3 separate regions of the Homo sapiens genome follow, and regions 2 and 3 are each linked to region 1. Evidence: promoter capture Hi-C in 16 types of primary human blood cells and fetal thymus (Javierre and others, 2016). All regions are on one chromosome and are shown on one strand. Each heading gives the region's core, a stretch centred on a gene start or on the middle of the fragment in contact. The rest is flanking DNA. Distances are from core to core; before and after follow the strand shown. Region 1 holds the start of C21orf91-OT1 (C21orf91 overlapping transcript 1). Region 2 holds the start of NRIP1 (nuclear receptor interacting protein 1). Region 3 holds the start of USP25 (ubiquitin specific peptidase 25).

What was found. Contacts are between HindIII fragments. The CHiCAGO score rates a contact against its expected background, and 5 or more counts as called.
Region 2: a contact is called between the fragment with the promoter of NRIP1 here and the fragment with the promoter of C21orf91-OT1 in region 1, in 1 of 17 cell types (activated CD4 T cells). The highest score is 9.0, in activated CD4 T cells.
Region 3: a contact is called between a fragment that was not itself captured here and the fragment with the promoter of C21orf91-OT1 in region 1, in 3 of 17 cell types (total CD4 T cells, activated CD4 T cells and naive CD8 T cells). The highest score is 7.4, in total CD4 T cells.

What each region holds. Positions count from the first base shown.
Region 1 is chr21:17,788,880-17,793,758 of GRCh38, forward strand. C21orf91-OT1 (C21orf91 overlapping transcript 1) reads right to left here and starts at 3,630. Exons shown (of 4, transcript NR_038871.1): 1 at 3,598-3,630. It overlaps C21orf91 (chromosome 21 open reading frame 91), which reads right to left. Exons shown (of 5, transcript NM_001100420.2): 5 at 95-4,702. The coding sequence ends at 4,536. The region is part of intron 2 of LOC124900465 (a long non-coding RNA gene); the gene reads left to right. The HindIII fragment of the contact is 3,892 bases long and covers 1,421-4,879 here.
Region 2 is chr21:15,062,646-15,067,524 of GRCh38, forward strand. NRIP1 (nuclear receptor interacting protein 1) reads right to left here and starts at 2,355. Exons shown (of 4, transcript NM_003489.4): 1 at 2,100-2,355. LINC02920 (long intergenic non-protein coding RNA 2920) reads left to right here and starts at 4,425. Exons shown (of 2, transcript NR_186411.1): 1 at 4,425-4,567. RefSeq lists enhancers at 707-756, 3,207-3,256 and silencers at 1,587-2,446, 2,697-2,876. The HindIII fragment of the contact is 10,218 bases long and covers 1-4,879 here.
Region 3 is chr21:15,726,492-15,731,370 of GRCh38, forward strand. It overlaps USP25 (ubiquitin specific peptidase 25), which reads left to right and starts at 3,491. Exons shown (of 26, transcript NM_001283041.3): 1 at 3,491-3,947. The coding sequence starts at 3,903. RefSeq lists a silencer at 3,096-4,055. The HindIII fragment of the contact is 156 bases long and covers 2,343-2,498 here.

The DNA.
Region 1 (4,879 bases), core at 2,380-4,879:
TTATAGACTCCCTAAACCTGCAAAGCAAAACCATATAGACCCACTATTTAAAAAAATATAGCTACTTTTCAAAGCATCCACTCAAGCTAGCAGATAACAAAATACTTATTTTATTGTTGTAAAATTAAAAATAGTAGACAAGCATATATACAGTTCCCAAGCAGAGCAATACAAATATATAAATTATTGCAGTTTTCAAAGAAAATATAACAGCCAAATAATTGCCTACTTTTTTGAAACAAACTTGGTTTTTACCACAGCAGTTTCATTTTCTTTTTCCAAAAGTCTTAACACAATTTTGTAAAGTAAATTTCTAACACCAGAGAGATTAAGTTCAATGACCATAGTATACGCTACTGTTTTAAAGCAAGGTTCACACACACACACACACACACACACACACACACAAAATGGAACTGAACAAAAGTCACTACTTAATACTTTCTAAATTGCCTCTTTTGGAGGTACGGTGAAAGAAAAACATTCTAGATGCGTCTGAAAGAAACAAGGTACACACACTTACTAAAATTCCCCTTTGCTTTAGGTGTAGTTGAGGGAAGTTCAACTAATCTTTAAACCTTTTTTGGGAGAGGGCAATACTCATCTTCATGAATTTTTGTTTACTTTGGTAAACTTAAAATTGTGAAATAATTAAATATTATTAAAATGTATTAGTAATGTGGACTCAAACTAAAAAGAACAGGGAAAGTGTATGTTAACAAACTAGATGTTTTGGAGACTTGATATAATATGGTTCATATCAATGTTACCATAGCCAGAAGTTGCTTAATAGGTTAGACTGCACCATAATCAAGGCAATTATGAAAGGATGAAGTGAAATGAAAATACTGAGATGCAAGCATTATAGCCCTCCTCCAAGTTACCTTTATTTTGTGTGAGGGCTCTAGTATTCTGGTAAATAAACTCTTCCCTGCCCCATGACCACAAAACTTTACTTGGTAAGAATAAACTGTTGGGGGTTTTATCTCTTACTAATTCTCACCACAAATTTCCTCAAATAGTTACTCCCACCAACGTAAAAGTTAAAAATACAATCATACACTGAAACGGCATCAATTATCTTTGCCTTACATCTGAACAAAAAGTATTAACTTTTTTATAGCGTATTACACTTCTTAATAAGCACTTAGTAACAACATTTGTCAGTAAATGAACTGGCATACATCAGAAAAAGTTGACAATAGAAGAATTTTACATGGTACCATTTCAAATTTTCATGTACAAGTAACCCACTTTATGGTCACTAACCTGAACCTCCTAATAAGCTACACAAATAATTTACTCTTTAAAAATTCCTACTTTAGAGCATTTACATTTTATAATTTAATAATGAAAGCAGATTCTTCCAAAACAAAACAAAACCCAAACTGGGAAACATTAAAACACAAATAGATCTAAAAGCTTACTTTAAAAAAACTACAAAAATGGACTAACAAGCCTTACCAGTGTAAACACTAAGGTAAAAAATATATAAACAACATAAAGAAAACACAAAACCATTTTCAGTCATAAATATAGTAAAATGAAAAACCAAATCTCAAGATGCCTGTCAAGATATATTTGACTATATATTTTGACTATATTTCTGAAATCACTAACATGAACTTGACATTGAAAAAATAATCCTTAAATGTATATAAAAATGGGCACTTTGTGGTAAAATGAACATGTGTTTTGAAAAACTAAGAATGTGTCTTTGCTCCACCATTGTGCATAGTCAACGACACAACAAAACACTATTCTGCTGCCTGAATCATCTATTACTGGAGTCTCAAGTGCATGCCTTTTAAAAAAGACTAATTTAGATATTAATATGAGGATCAAAGGATAAGATGATAATCTCAAAGTAAAACATAATTGATTTTTAGCTTCATTATAAGGCTGAACTTTAAAGAGAACAACCTGTGTGGTCAAAAACACTTTTCTAATTTTTAAAACTCAATTTAACGTGTCAAATTATAAAACTGAACGTGAAAAAGATTTGTCTTATCTCACTCCCCTTAATCATATAAGCTCTGAAAATTTAGTAATGGATGACTGGCAGTCTGTTTTGCCACTTTTTAAACAGTAGTACATGAGATATGCTTCAAAACATTCTCAAAAATTACTAACAACTGTAGAGAATAGCCAAGTGTGGAAAACAATATTTGTGATATTTCATGTTCTCTTGTTAGAACTCAACTCTGTACCTGATACTTATATTTGCATACACAGTAATTGCATATTTGATTAAGAAAACTAACATAGGACTAAATTATAAGTTTACCAAACATTTGGATAAACTGCTGTGCAAAATACTTCAACAAAAAGTTTTTTTTACTAGGAACTCATCCAAATAAAGTAGTGTGAGTACCAGCACCACAAAGTTTTTTTTAAGAGCACCTCTCCTTTTTAGAGCTTAAGTAGAAATATCTAAATGGAATAAATCAGAGTCCCACTTAAGACCTTAGCACATGCACACGTTCATCCACTTGTTCCGTACTCATTAGCAAAGCTATGTATATTTGTCAGAAAACTCCTTTCTTTGGATAACACTGTTGTATTCAGGACTGCAACTTATGGCTCATATTCTGGAAATATGCTACTATTGATATCAAATGCAACATATCCCCAACTTTTATGACTGTCCCTAACTCATCTAAACACAAACCCAAATGTGTGCAAACACACTGGCTGGTAACAATCTTACTGAATTACGCCAAAAAAGAGTAAAGTCAAATTTGAAAATGTGGGAACAATTAAGCACTAAGATATTAATCAGGAAATGTATTTACCCAGCTTGTAAGTTTGAATATTTTGATATTGCACACATTTAATTTAAAGCTCATCAAAACTAAGGCAATGCATCCATACTCCCTGGATTTTAAATTCATTTTGCATGACTTAAAGAATTGAGAGAAATCGAAAGCATCTTTCAAAAATTCCCTCCAAAAAGTAATGTTATACTTCAAAGAAAAACAAAATCAACAGATATCAATTAATACCCTCAGGCCAATTTAACACGTCAGCATTACAAAAAGTTGTTTTCAATTAAACTGAAGTGTTTCTTTGCTTAAATACTTTCTTGTGTTCAACAACAAAATCTGACCCAAGCCAGGGTAGGCTGCCAAATTTAAGGCAAATGTCATTTATATCTTTATGCATGAAGCTGCCACGTTACTGGGCTTTTCAGCAGATACTTTCAAGCAAGGATCTACCTCATAAGTACATTCTAAACATGAGTTAAAAACAGAATTTAGAGCCCATTTTAATTCTGCATTGGTTATAGCCTTTACTGTAATACATTATTAAAATTTATCTAGCTGTTTGGCACAATCTGTTAGATAAAAACTCTTTGGAAGCATCATAGGCAACTTACGAGAACATTCTCTTAATACATAGGTTTATTTTTTTTTAATTAGGAGTTTTGCTTTTCTTCTGTAGAACAATCCTATATTTCTCTATAGAGTCTAAAGTTTAGAAAAATACCTCACAATGCTTTCTTTGAGCACTAAGTTCAATGATGGTGATAATACAATTTGGACAGTTTAAGTATTCTTGAAACTTTACCCAAAGTGGCACACAAAATAATCTTACTTTTTTTTTTCAAAGACAGAACAATTTCACAGCACACTCAATTTGAAGATAGACATTATATTTGAATTGGAAGTGAGGCTTGACTTACTCTGTCCAAATTCTAATGCATCACAGTCACTGGTGTGAAGCTAATAATGAAAGAAGCAAGAGGAGGCTTTCATTTCTATGGAGACAAATTGACATAGAAGCCAGATTAGTCTTTTCTTCCTGAACTAAGAACTGCTTTTGTTAGAAAACAAAATAATGTATTGTATTTACCTGAATACTGCTTTAAAAAGTTATTAATTCTTCTTTTACAAGAGGTATTAGAAATTAAAACAACTCAGATTTCTAATCCAAAATATATTTATCTTTGGAAAGCAAGGTAACCGTTGTGAAAACATTGTATTAAGAGAATAAAATGCAGTGACCTGAAATATGGGTGAACATATTCACACATGATAATGTAAATAAATATACAGAACCACTCAAATACACATTTATAAAGAGAATGGCAAAGTACCTAAAATAGCATTTTCACATATAAAATTTTTATATTAAAATATTGCTCATAATAAATAAGAGGTGATATGAATTCCATTTCCCTCTTAAAAATTATCTCTAGTAGTTTACACTAAGGAGTTAATCTGTTGTTTTGACAGGTGAATTAAAATGTTTAATAAAATGACACTGTAACAGTATATTTAAGTAGTCACATGTGATAAAATTTGTTTAGTAATTCTGGGAAAAAAGAGTCCCCAAATGAGCCAAAATGATTAGCCCTAGAAGACTAGAGTATAATGATCTGCTTTATTTGACAAAGATGTTAAATACTGCCTTATGTTTGGCAAATTTAATGACCATAAAAAAACGGACCACAACTTTCTTCAAACTTCTTCAAAGTTTGCATGTCTGGGAGACCAATAAAGGGCAGGGCATACGAAGTAAGTCTGTTTAGGTCAGTTGTTTATGGGTAGGTGCGACTTCATTCCTGTTCGCCCTACTTGCAGACATGGTAACTTAGAACAGTTCTTCAGAAGCTGTTCGATGGCAACGTGGCGGACATGGAGCTGTGAGGCCAAAGAATCTTTTTCTTGCACTTGGTGAGTTAACTCTTCAAAAACTTCTGTAAAAGATTTAAAAACTTTCATTTTTAGTATGCAGAAAGCCGGTGCTATGATTTATATTTCAAGAACTCTAACTGAAATCTATGCATTGGGCAAAGTGTCACAATGAAACTGATTTGATACCAAGGAAACAGTTCTGTTCTCTACAAAGCATATCAGTTCTGATCATCCTAGGC
Region 2 (4,879 bases), core at 1,105-3,604, 2.7 Mb before region 1:
ACGGGCTTTTGAAAGCTAGTACTTCTTAATCATTTTCGACTATATCAGAACTGTAACAGACATGTCAATTTAAGCAAACTTCATGAGCAATAAACTAACAAACAGACTCTAGGTGGTGGTATAGGTTATTTTTTATCATGATGTTTTGCACTTATAACTGCAAGAGTCAGAAAAGCCTTTAGTCTCTTCACACACTTCTTTAGTGCAAAGTTAACAATATTTTAGGGTGTTAAAATTAGCAAAATCCAAGTTCTGCAGAGTTTAGAAATGCATGTAAAAGAGGCATTAAACCTGGTTTTCAACTAACTTCCCACAGGCATTAAACCTGGTTTTTCAACTAACTCATTTGAATAAAATCAACAACGAACAGTCCTTTTTTTTTTCTGTTATGTTCTGATGTATATTTTACTCACACTCCTAGGGCACTTTTAAAGGTAAGTTTGGAAAGAGGTCTTTCTCCACCAGAGTATGAAACAGACTAGAACAACCAATCCTACAACCTGCAGGGCAGTAGCCGCTCCACTAATTGATTCTCCTTCTTTGTCTCTAGGAACTATGCCCAGGCAGAAAAAAAGTTACTGTAGGTGATGAAGCCAGTGCTCCCTGAACCAAATAAACCCTATCGACGTTACCGAACTGCCGGGCAAAACCAGAGCAACTCACTTACTTGGAAGGTGAAAAACACTTCAACATACTCCAGGCGGCAACCGACACTTAGGGGCCAGGCAGATGAAACACCATTTGTTTAAAAAGTCTATTATTTCACTGTCTCTTCAACAAAGGTGGAAAACTGATGATTAAACACTGAATAATGCCACCCACTTACTAAACCTATGATTCACTAATAAGCAGGTTCAATGCAATTCATAACTTTAAAGAATGAATTACCGAAGCCCCTTGCTTCACAAATTCCCCCAAGAAACAGAAAGAGCATTCATCACATATAACCCGACAACCATTTTTACTATGGACACCTACAGATGGCTTCTCTTCCTCTAAGGACACAATTTCCTTCACAATCCCACATGTAATCATTTACAATACCAGAAACAAACTCCAACTCAGTTCCACCAACTGGGTTTTTAAAAATCCTTGTGCCTAAGAACGTCTTTTTTCCCCAAAGTAAAATGTGCCATTAAAAAATATTTTTAAAACGCAAAAGTGCTTATCATTCCGTACTTCTTTTACTACCTTCAGCAGCCAATTATTGACGTGATAAAAGGTAGAAACTCCTGGAATGCTTCAGAGATCAACATGTGTCACAGACTCCCAGCCTGTCCGCCTCTAAGACACAGTTGGTTCCTTTGTTCCTTCTGACTGAACACCAACTCCTGATCAAAATTGGGAAACTACTTTGGAAGGGATGGGAGGGTCTGCAGAATACATCCACGGAAACCTTCATAAAACAATATTCAATCGTAATAAGGTGGACACAGAAGAAGGGAGAAAAGGCAGCCTCCCGGACTTCCACCGGGCTCACCCTAAATGGGGGCCGGCCCCTGGCTCCTGGTAAAATGATGGCTGAGGCCTCGGGTCCGTGAGCCTCGCCATCGGGAGGGGACCGCGAGTGCGGGCAGAGCGGCCCGGGGTCGGGTGGGGGCCGGGCGAGCTGTCCCTTTTCCTATTCACTTTCCCAGCCGGGTATCCAGCGAGCAAGGAGCAGGGAGGCACCCAGGCGAAAGGCGCCGCCCAGGATCCGGCTGGACAGCAGGACGGAGAGCGGCGAGGCGAGCGGTGCCCGGGGTTCGGGACCGAGAGGGCAAGCGAGCGGGGGCAACCCCGACCCGGCCCCCCGAGTCCGGCCCCGCTCAGGGGCCACGCGACGGCCGCCCCCTTGCCCAGAACTGGCACGGACGGGCGGGCCGACCCGGGGCCACTCCACAACTTGCCGGCCCGCCGCCCCGGCCCCCCGCGAGAACCCGGAGACTCGAACCAGGCAGCAGAGGCAGGATTTCCCCGGAAACGCGCCCTCCCCGCCGCCCCGACGCCCCCGCGGCCCTGCCAGCCAAGCGAGAGCCGACGCGGGCCGCGCTCCCGGGCCGTTTCCGGCGGCGCCGGCGGCCGCTACTCCTGGCGCCCTGGCCGCGGCCGTCACTCACCCCAGGCCGCCGCGGCTCCCAGCCTCCGGCTCCGTCAGGCTCGGTCCGCGAAGGCGCCTGCCGCCCCGTCCTGGCCCGGCGCCCCGGCGAGCTCTTCCCTCCGACCAGCGGCGCTCACGGCGCAGCGGCGGACGCGAGGCCACGGGCGGACGGGCGCGCGCGGGTGGCGGGCGGGCGTGGGGCCGGGTCGTCCCTGCGCCTCGCCGCCGCCTCCTCCGCCGCCGCCTCCCGAGTTCGGGGCTCTGCTGCAATGTCTGCGAGGCTGACTTTGAGCGCCTCGCTCACCGCCCGCCCGCAGCCGCGCTCCTCCCTCCGCCGCCGAGTCCGCCGCGGCCCAGTCCCTCCCCTCGCCGCCCCACGCCATTCAGCTCTTCAGCCAAGTTTCTTAACCCTTTTCTCCCCCTCCCTCCCATTGTCACCCGGTCAGGAGGAAGCCGCGCGGATCCGGGCGGCTCACAGGAGCTGCGGAACCCCCTCTGTTTCGTGGATTTCCTTCTCGCCTGCTCTCCGGGTGTCCCAGACGGGGCTGCAAGACCCGGAGGCAGCGAGAGGACCGCGTCCCCGAGAGAGGGGCTGCACGGCGCGCCCGGGCCGTCCCCCGGGCTCCCAGCTCTGTCCAGCCGCCCGCGACCGCTGCAGGCGCCTGGACAGCTCCTCCTGGGGACCGGGGAAAGCGCTCTTGGGACCCAGGCCGAATGCTCCCGTTTGGGCACAGCCTGGGGGCCGGGGCGCCCCAGACGCTCCAGGGTCCCCGCCTGCCTTAAGCGTCTACCTCCTCCCCTTCACCCCACAACACGCGCTCTCTGGGCCCCCTTTCACCCACCCACCCCCAATTTCTATCTCCTTGTAATCTGTGTGTCCTGCTTTAATGTTGGGGGGCACGGGCGCGAACTCTGGGTCACTTTGACCCCACGCCCAGCACGTAGTAGGCGCCCAGCACTCGTGTGGAGCGACTCTGGGAGGAAAACTAGGAAGGAGACCTGAGGAGCGCCCCGCTCAGCTCCCTGGACAGACGTAGGACCCAGGAGCAGGGTTAATCCTCGGCTGCTTTGTCACTGCGAAGTCTCCAGCGGAGTCTGTCAGCCAATCTGCATCATCCCCGGGAAGGATCTGACCCAACAAGACAAGGGAAAAGGAGCAGGGCTGCTACTTCTTCAGCAGCTCTCCTCGGTTCGGTCTCCGAATAAGAAATAACAATTACATCACGAGGCCGGGGCGGCAGCGCGGTGGAGCCTCTCGGTTTCCTGCAGCCTAATCTCACTGAACCCGCCTCTAAATTGGGGGGGCCACAGATTGGTGAAACGAGAAAGTGGAAGGAGGAGAGAGTCATACGAAACCATAATTTCCCCTTATCCTTGTATTTGCTGTTTGAAAAATCGTATCCTCAACGCTCCCCAGACATCTCACTAGAACTATTAACACCCCCTCAACACCTCCCCAGATGTCAGGTTTCTTTTTGACTTGAGCATCTAGCATTTAGTAATTCGCCATGAAAAAAATTACCAGGGGAAGCGAGTGTTGTTGCTGAAATTGTTTTTGCTTGACACAAAAAAGCTAAAGTACAGCTTAGTCTCACCCGAAATTCTGAAACGGCATGCCCGTGTTAAAACACTTATTACATAAGACAAATGAGCCGATGAGGCACTCCATTCTTATATGTAGGTTTTCATATCCTGAAGAATTTGATAGCATTTGGAAATGAAGTTGCTAATGCGCTTAAAAAACAAAAACTATCCAAGTCATGAAACTGTATTCTGTGCCTGTTATGTAATGGCTGTATTGTGTATTGCAAATTTCACTTAACCTTTAAACAATATGAATGAGAGTTTTAGAATACTGTCACAGTCTTGAAAGTGAAAGCAATTTTTCAAATTAATGCTTAATAAATTCAGCACCCAGCACAGTGCCGGGCACATAGTGCCAATGTTTTCCTTAGTGGCAATGGCACATTTTAAAACAATTATTTTTCATCACCCTAGTGATTGAACTATGCAATCTGTTGCCATTTTATATAGTTAAACCTCATATAATATAATACCATATTATTTGCATATACCACAATTCAAAATCTGCTCTAGGCAAAATAAAGTCTGCTGTTTTTTAGTGCATCATTTATTCAGAATTGATACAAAGCAAACCGTTTCAATTCAATGATGACCAGCATAATTGGAGCTTGGCCCTTAGTGGGGGGTCAAACTTTTTTTATGAAAATTATTTTTAACCATTATACAGATTTTTCTACAATGTATTGCAAATGTTTCTCTTAAGCAGTTTGTTGAACGTCATTTAGCATTTTCTTGATAATTCAATGTTAATTTTATTAAAAGTAATTATTGTAGTAGGTTGTAGCGGATTCAGTAAATATATCCAGTTCCTATTCTATATTCTTTCTAGGTGTTAGGAATGCTCCCAGGAGGTACAAAAGCTATCAGTCGCTGCACCGAAGGACTCTAGGATGCTATGACTTAGTGATTATCTCTGCCTTTTGTAATTTCTCTCTCTCCCCCTTCACTAACTGACAATCTATTGTCCTTACTGTTACTAGCATAGCTGCCACTAACATTCTCCTCATCTTCTGATGGGTAACTTCCAGTCTAGTGCGGACTGGGAATCCAGATAGCCTCACTTGTCACAATTCTGTCTAAAGTAAACTTAATAGGTTCTGGGTAAGGGACTAATGGGCTCACCAAGGAGTAGGGCGCACACACACCTTAGTGCATAGACTTTGGGAAAGATATTTGGACTACTCAAGTCTATCTTTTAAATACATTCCTCTTACT
Region 3 (4,879 bases), core at 1,171-3,670, 2.1 Mb before region 1:
ACAAAGCTATCCACTTGGAATGAGAAGTTAGAGTTAGATGTGCACCACAAAAGCACAAATACATTTGTTTTCTCCCCTTCATGGCTGCCCACTTAATTCAATAAGCATTTTATTGTGCATGTATTAGGCAGGCAGTACTCTTGCAGGTTGTAATCTATGAACACCTGATTGCTAAATAGTACCATTATGACATCATAGAAGACTCCTCTTTAAATGATTGCTTATTGTTTTCTTTTTGCTCTTTTACATGGAGTCTTGCTCTGTCACCCTGGCTGGAGTGCAATGGCACATCTCGGCTCACTGCAACATCCGACTCCTAGGTTCAAGCAATTCTCCCTGCCTCAGGCTCCGAGTAGCTGGGATTACAGGTGCCTGCCACCACATCCGGCTAATTTTTGTATTTTTTAGTGGAGACAGTGTTTTGCCATGTTGGCCAGGCTGGGCTTGAACCCCTGACCTGAGGTGATCCGCCCACCTTGGCCTCCCAAAGTGCTGGGATTACAGAGGGGAGCCACCGTGCCCAGCCTGCTTATTGTTTTCTTATTGGTGGAAATAAAATTATCCCAGAATGCCAACACTCCTAAAGGAGGAAAATAATTCAGATCCTCATTGCAGTAGATTTAAAACCACTCTTTTGTAATGGAAATTGTCTAAATCTGCTCCATGGATTCAACAATTCTTTGCTGACATGCCTGTAATCCAGGTAGCTACTTCAGAGGCTGAGGCAGGAGGATCCCTTGAGACCAGGAGCTCAACACCAGCTAGGGGGGAAACAAAGAAAAGTCCTACAAATGTGTTTTGGCAATATGGTAAACTTTTGGTATCCGGAAATGGATTTTTAACCCCTTTCTAAAGATACCTAAGGCGGAAGAATACCAATTTTCTTAGTTGACATATAAAATACAATACTGAGTATTGCTAGAAATAACGTTTTGACCCAAAACAGAAAAATAGTCTTGCAGTTTGTCTTTGTCTATTTTATGCTGCTACAACATAATACCTATGAATGGGTAATTGATAATGATCAGAAATTTGTTGGCTCACAGTTCTGGAGGCAGGGAAGGTCAAGATGGATGGGCCGTCATTTGGTGAAGGCCTTCCTCCTGTATCATTGCATGGTGGAAGAGCTAAGAGAAGGGGAGAAAGAGAGAGAGGGAAGGAAAGGAAAAGGGAAAGAGGCAAGAAGGAGCCAAACTCGTCCTTTTATAAGGAAACTGTCCTTTTGATAGGGACTGCACATTTGTGATAGCACCATTAATTAATTCATGAGGTCAGAGCTCTCATAACTGAATCACCTCTTATTAGGGCCCACCTCCACACTGTTGCATTGGGGATTAAGTTTCCATCACACCGTTTTTGGGGGGATACATTCAAACCACAGCATTGTTACACACAAAATATTTCATATTATATGAAATATGTCACTTAACATTTTTACCTGAATGTCAACAACATAGAGTAATGTAGCAGTTTAGAAGTTATTAAATAATATCTTGAGGATATATAATTCCGACACACATGCATATTAAAGCTGACTCATACAACACAATTGTCACGGCGCAAATTTAAAAAATGAGTTAGGAAATCCCAGCGATGGGTTTTGTGTGCCAATTTATCTCAATTGCTCAAATTTCTCTAATTATTCATCCCAATTGTAAGCCTTCTAAAAAGGAATGCCTATGAGGAAACTTGAAATTTTCTTCTCAATGTTCTTCAGTACAACAGTTAAAAATATTTAAAGAAATGCTGAGTAAGTAGGAAACCCTCAGAAGTAAGCTGAAAATGAACAGTCTCAGTGGGCAAATAGGTCTACCATATAAAAGCTCTATTTGATGATTATCTATTGTAAGATCATCTTTTTTTTTCTGTATGGAAGTAACAAATTTAACTCAGAGAAAAGTTGTATTGCCAAATTCTTGAAATTAAACCTTAGTATCTGGCAACATTTTTCCTCCCATGGTACTAGATTACTAGATTTTTATGTTAAATTTAATTTTCTTGAATTCAAATGTATGAGCTTGATTTCTAAAAAACAAACAAACAAACCAAAAAACCAAAACCCTCATATGGAGAAACATGAAGTTAGCATATAAACAAGAAAAGAAGAAACTTTGATCTATAAATGAAGAAAAATGGGTTTTGATAAGCTCTCTTTGACAGGTCACCCTCCTTGGGCTTCAGAGTTATAAAAAAATCGATACGTGAGATTAGAGATGTGACAGTATTTCTAAATTTCTGTTTCCAACCGTTTCATGACTTTTCATTTCCTCTAGAAAAGACATAGGATATTAATATAATAAGATTTGCAATTTGTTAAATATCAAATGAGTCAACAAATATGAAGCTTCAAGGAAAAGGTGACAACAGGTGGTACCAGACATCTGAGCTGCAGAACAAAGATGGTTGTAAAGTGCACAGAACTGTTACAAAGCCTTAAGAGCTACTATAATCCATGATTATTAAATAACACCACATACTATTTCAATTAGCATTTGCCAAGCTTGCTTTCCTTGTCATTGGATTAAAAATTATACCCGGATTTTCAAGTGTATTCTATTTGTGACAATATGCATTGATAATTTCTCTCCTCACACTGCTGCACTCTCACCTCCGTTCCCAGATTAGCTCCTGGAACTCGAGATATTTTTGTGGCTAGAGATTGCTTTCTTAATGTTAGATTTTCCTTACAATTCCATATATAGTCAAGCATTCCATGCATGGTAGTTAATTGTTTGCTTAATTTGGCAACTGGGATATTAGAATTATGTATCATTAGGCAGTGATATTTTTGTAAGGTTGTTTGCTAGATAGATCCTATTTCATTTATATTAAGTCTTGGGAAGATAAACTTTATTTTTCCAGAGCCTAGCAGTGACTGACACATATTCGAATGAATGAAGGTAGATAGAAAATGTCTATATTCATTTACGTAATGATTAGTTAAGGAGAAAAGTACTTCCCAGCATAAAGATTTCTGGCAACCCTTTGCTTATTTGACTTTTCCCTTCAGGCAAGTTCAAGGCTTGTGAAATTCCTAGAAAGGCGAGGGGAGAGAACGCGTGACACAGAAAGGGGCCGGAGTTCGGGACCCTACGCAGTTTTGGGACGTTATGGGCATGGAGGGAAATGTTTGCTTTGGAGGCTTTGGGTAAGCTAGGGATCCGACAAGCCCTGGGCGCAGGGAGGAACGCTGCCCTCCGGCCTCCAGTCGCGCTCCCCGAAGCCCAGCGCCAGCGTCGCGCAACCTGCCGCAGGGGCGGCTCCCGGGCCAGGCAGCCAGGCGCGCCCTCGCCCCACCCGGGAACGCCAGGCCCGCGCAGGGAGGGGCGGGGCTCCATGGCGGCCCCGCCCCGCCGCCCGGAGGGTCACAATGTAGGGTTAGGGCGGCCGGCGGGCGGGGCTCTGCGGGGGAGGAGCCGCCGGGCGGGGGCGGGGATGGCGCGTGGGGGAGGGGAGGGAGGAGGACTCGCGGAGGGAGGAGGACAACGCCATTCCGGGCGGCCGCTCCCTCCGTCCCCTCTCTCCCTTCCCCAAAGCAGCCCGCGGACCGGCAGCAAAGGAACGTGCGAACGCGTGACGCCGCCCGACTGGCTCGCGCTCTCCCGTGCCCCGGCGTCCTCCGCCCGCTCATGGCCCGGGCCGCCGCGGACGAGCGGCGCTGAGGCGGGCCGCGTGGAGACGTGAGGCGGCCGCCGTGGCCCTCACAGTCGGCGTTTCGCCGCCTGCCCGCGGTGCCCGCGCACGCCGGCCGCCATCGCCTTCGCGCCTGGCTGGCGGGGGCGCTGTCCTCCCAGGCCGTCCGCGCCGCTCCCTGGAGCTCGGCGGAGCGCGGCAGCCAGGGCCGGCGGAGGCGCGAGGAGCCGGGCGCCACCGCCGCCGCCGCCGCCGCCGCCGCGGGGGCCATGACCGTGGAGCAGAACGTGCTGCAGCAGAGCGCGGCGCAGAAGGTGAGGCGAGTCCGCCAGCCGGCGGGCCCCACTTCTCCTTCCGACGGGCTGTCCTCTCCCGCTGCGGCCGGGCGCCCCGGCCTCGCCGCCGCCGCCTTCCCGGGCTTCCTCCCCGGTCACCCCCGGCCCCTGCCCATCGCCTCGGGGGCGTCGCGCCCAGAGCCCAGCTGCGTGTGGGAAGCAGAGTGTAGTTTGCGGGCTTCAATCCACTTCCTTCTGCCGATTGTTTTCCCGTAGCAGACGGTGCCAGGTATTGAGAGCGACCCTCACATTCCTACAGTGCTCTGTGTGGCATCTTAATGAAACTTTATTCTCTCCCCTTAAATGAGAAAGAATAGCTAGTTGTCATCCTTTCTGAACCGATTTTGTCTTTCAAAGGTAGTAGTGTACCAGGCCTGCTATTTTGCAAAACGGTCTCCACCAAAATCGAATTACCTGCCTCGCGGGGCAGGCGTGTTGACCAGGTGGACTCTAGAAGTAGGTGGTTTGCTTGGTTTCTTTTCCTTTTAAGGTTTCCCTTTCTTCTTCTTCTTTTCTGTTTTTTTTTTTTTTTTTTTTTTTTTCAATATAGAAACTGTCCCTAAGAGAGGAAACCTTTCTGGCCATGTTATTCCAGGAATCTTTTGTCCCCTAAGTTTGACCTTGTTCTTTCGTTCACCCTTTACTCTTGCATCAGTCACACATTCAAATGGTCACTCACTAAAGAAAACAATTAAAAAACTGTTTGTGAAACTTTATATCTTTAAAGTGAATAGAGATCATTCTGCTATTTTAGATTTTGCTTTCAGAATCTTAAGTGCACTATCATGGCTTGCACCATGTTCTGAAGAGTAGTTGGCCATGATTTAACTTCTTTTTTTAATTTTTAATTTGCGTGAAAAGCATTTTGGGCAAAAGAGTAAACCGTGCCTTAGTTGTGTTGGTATTACGGG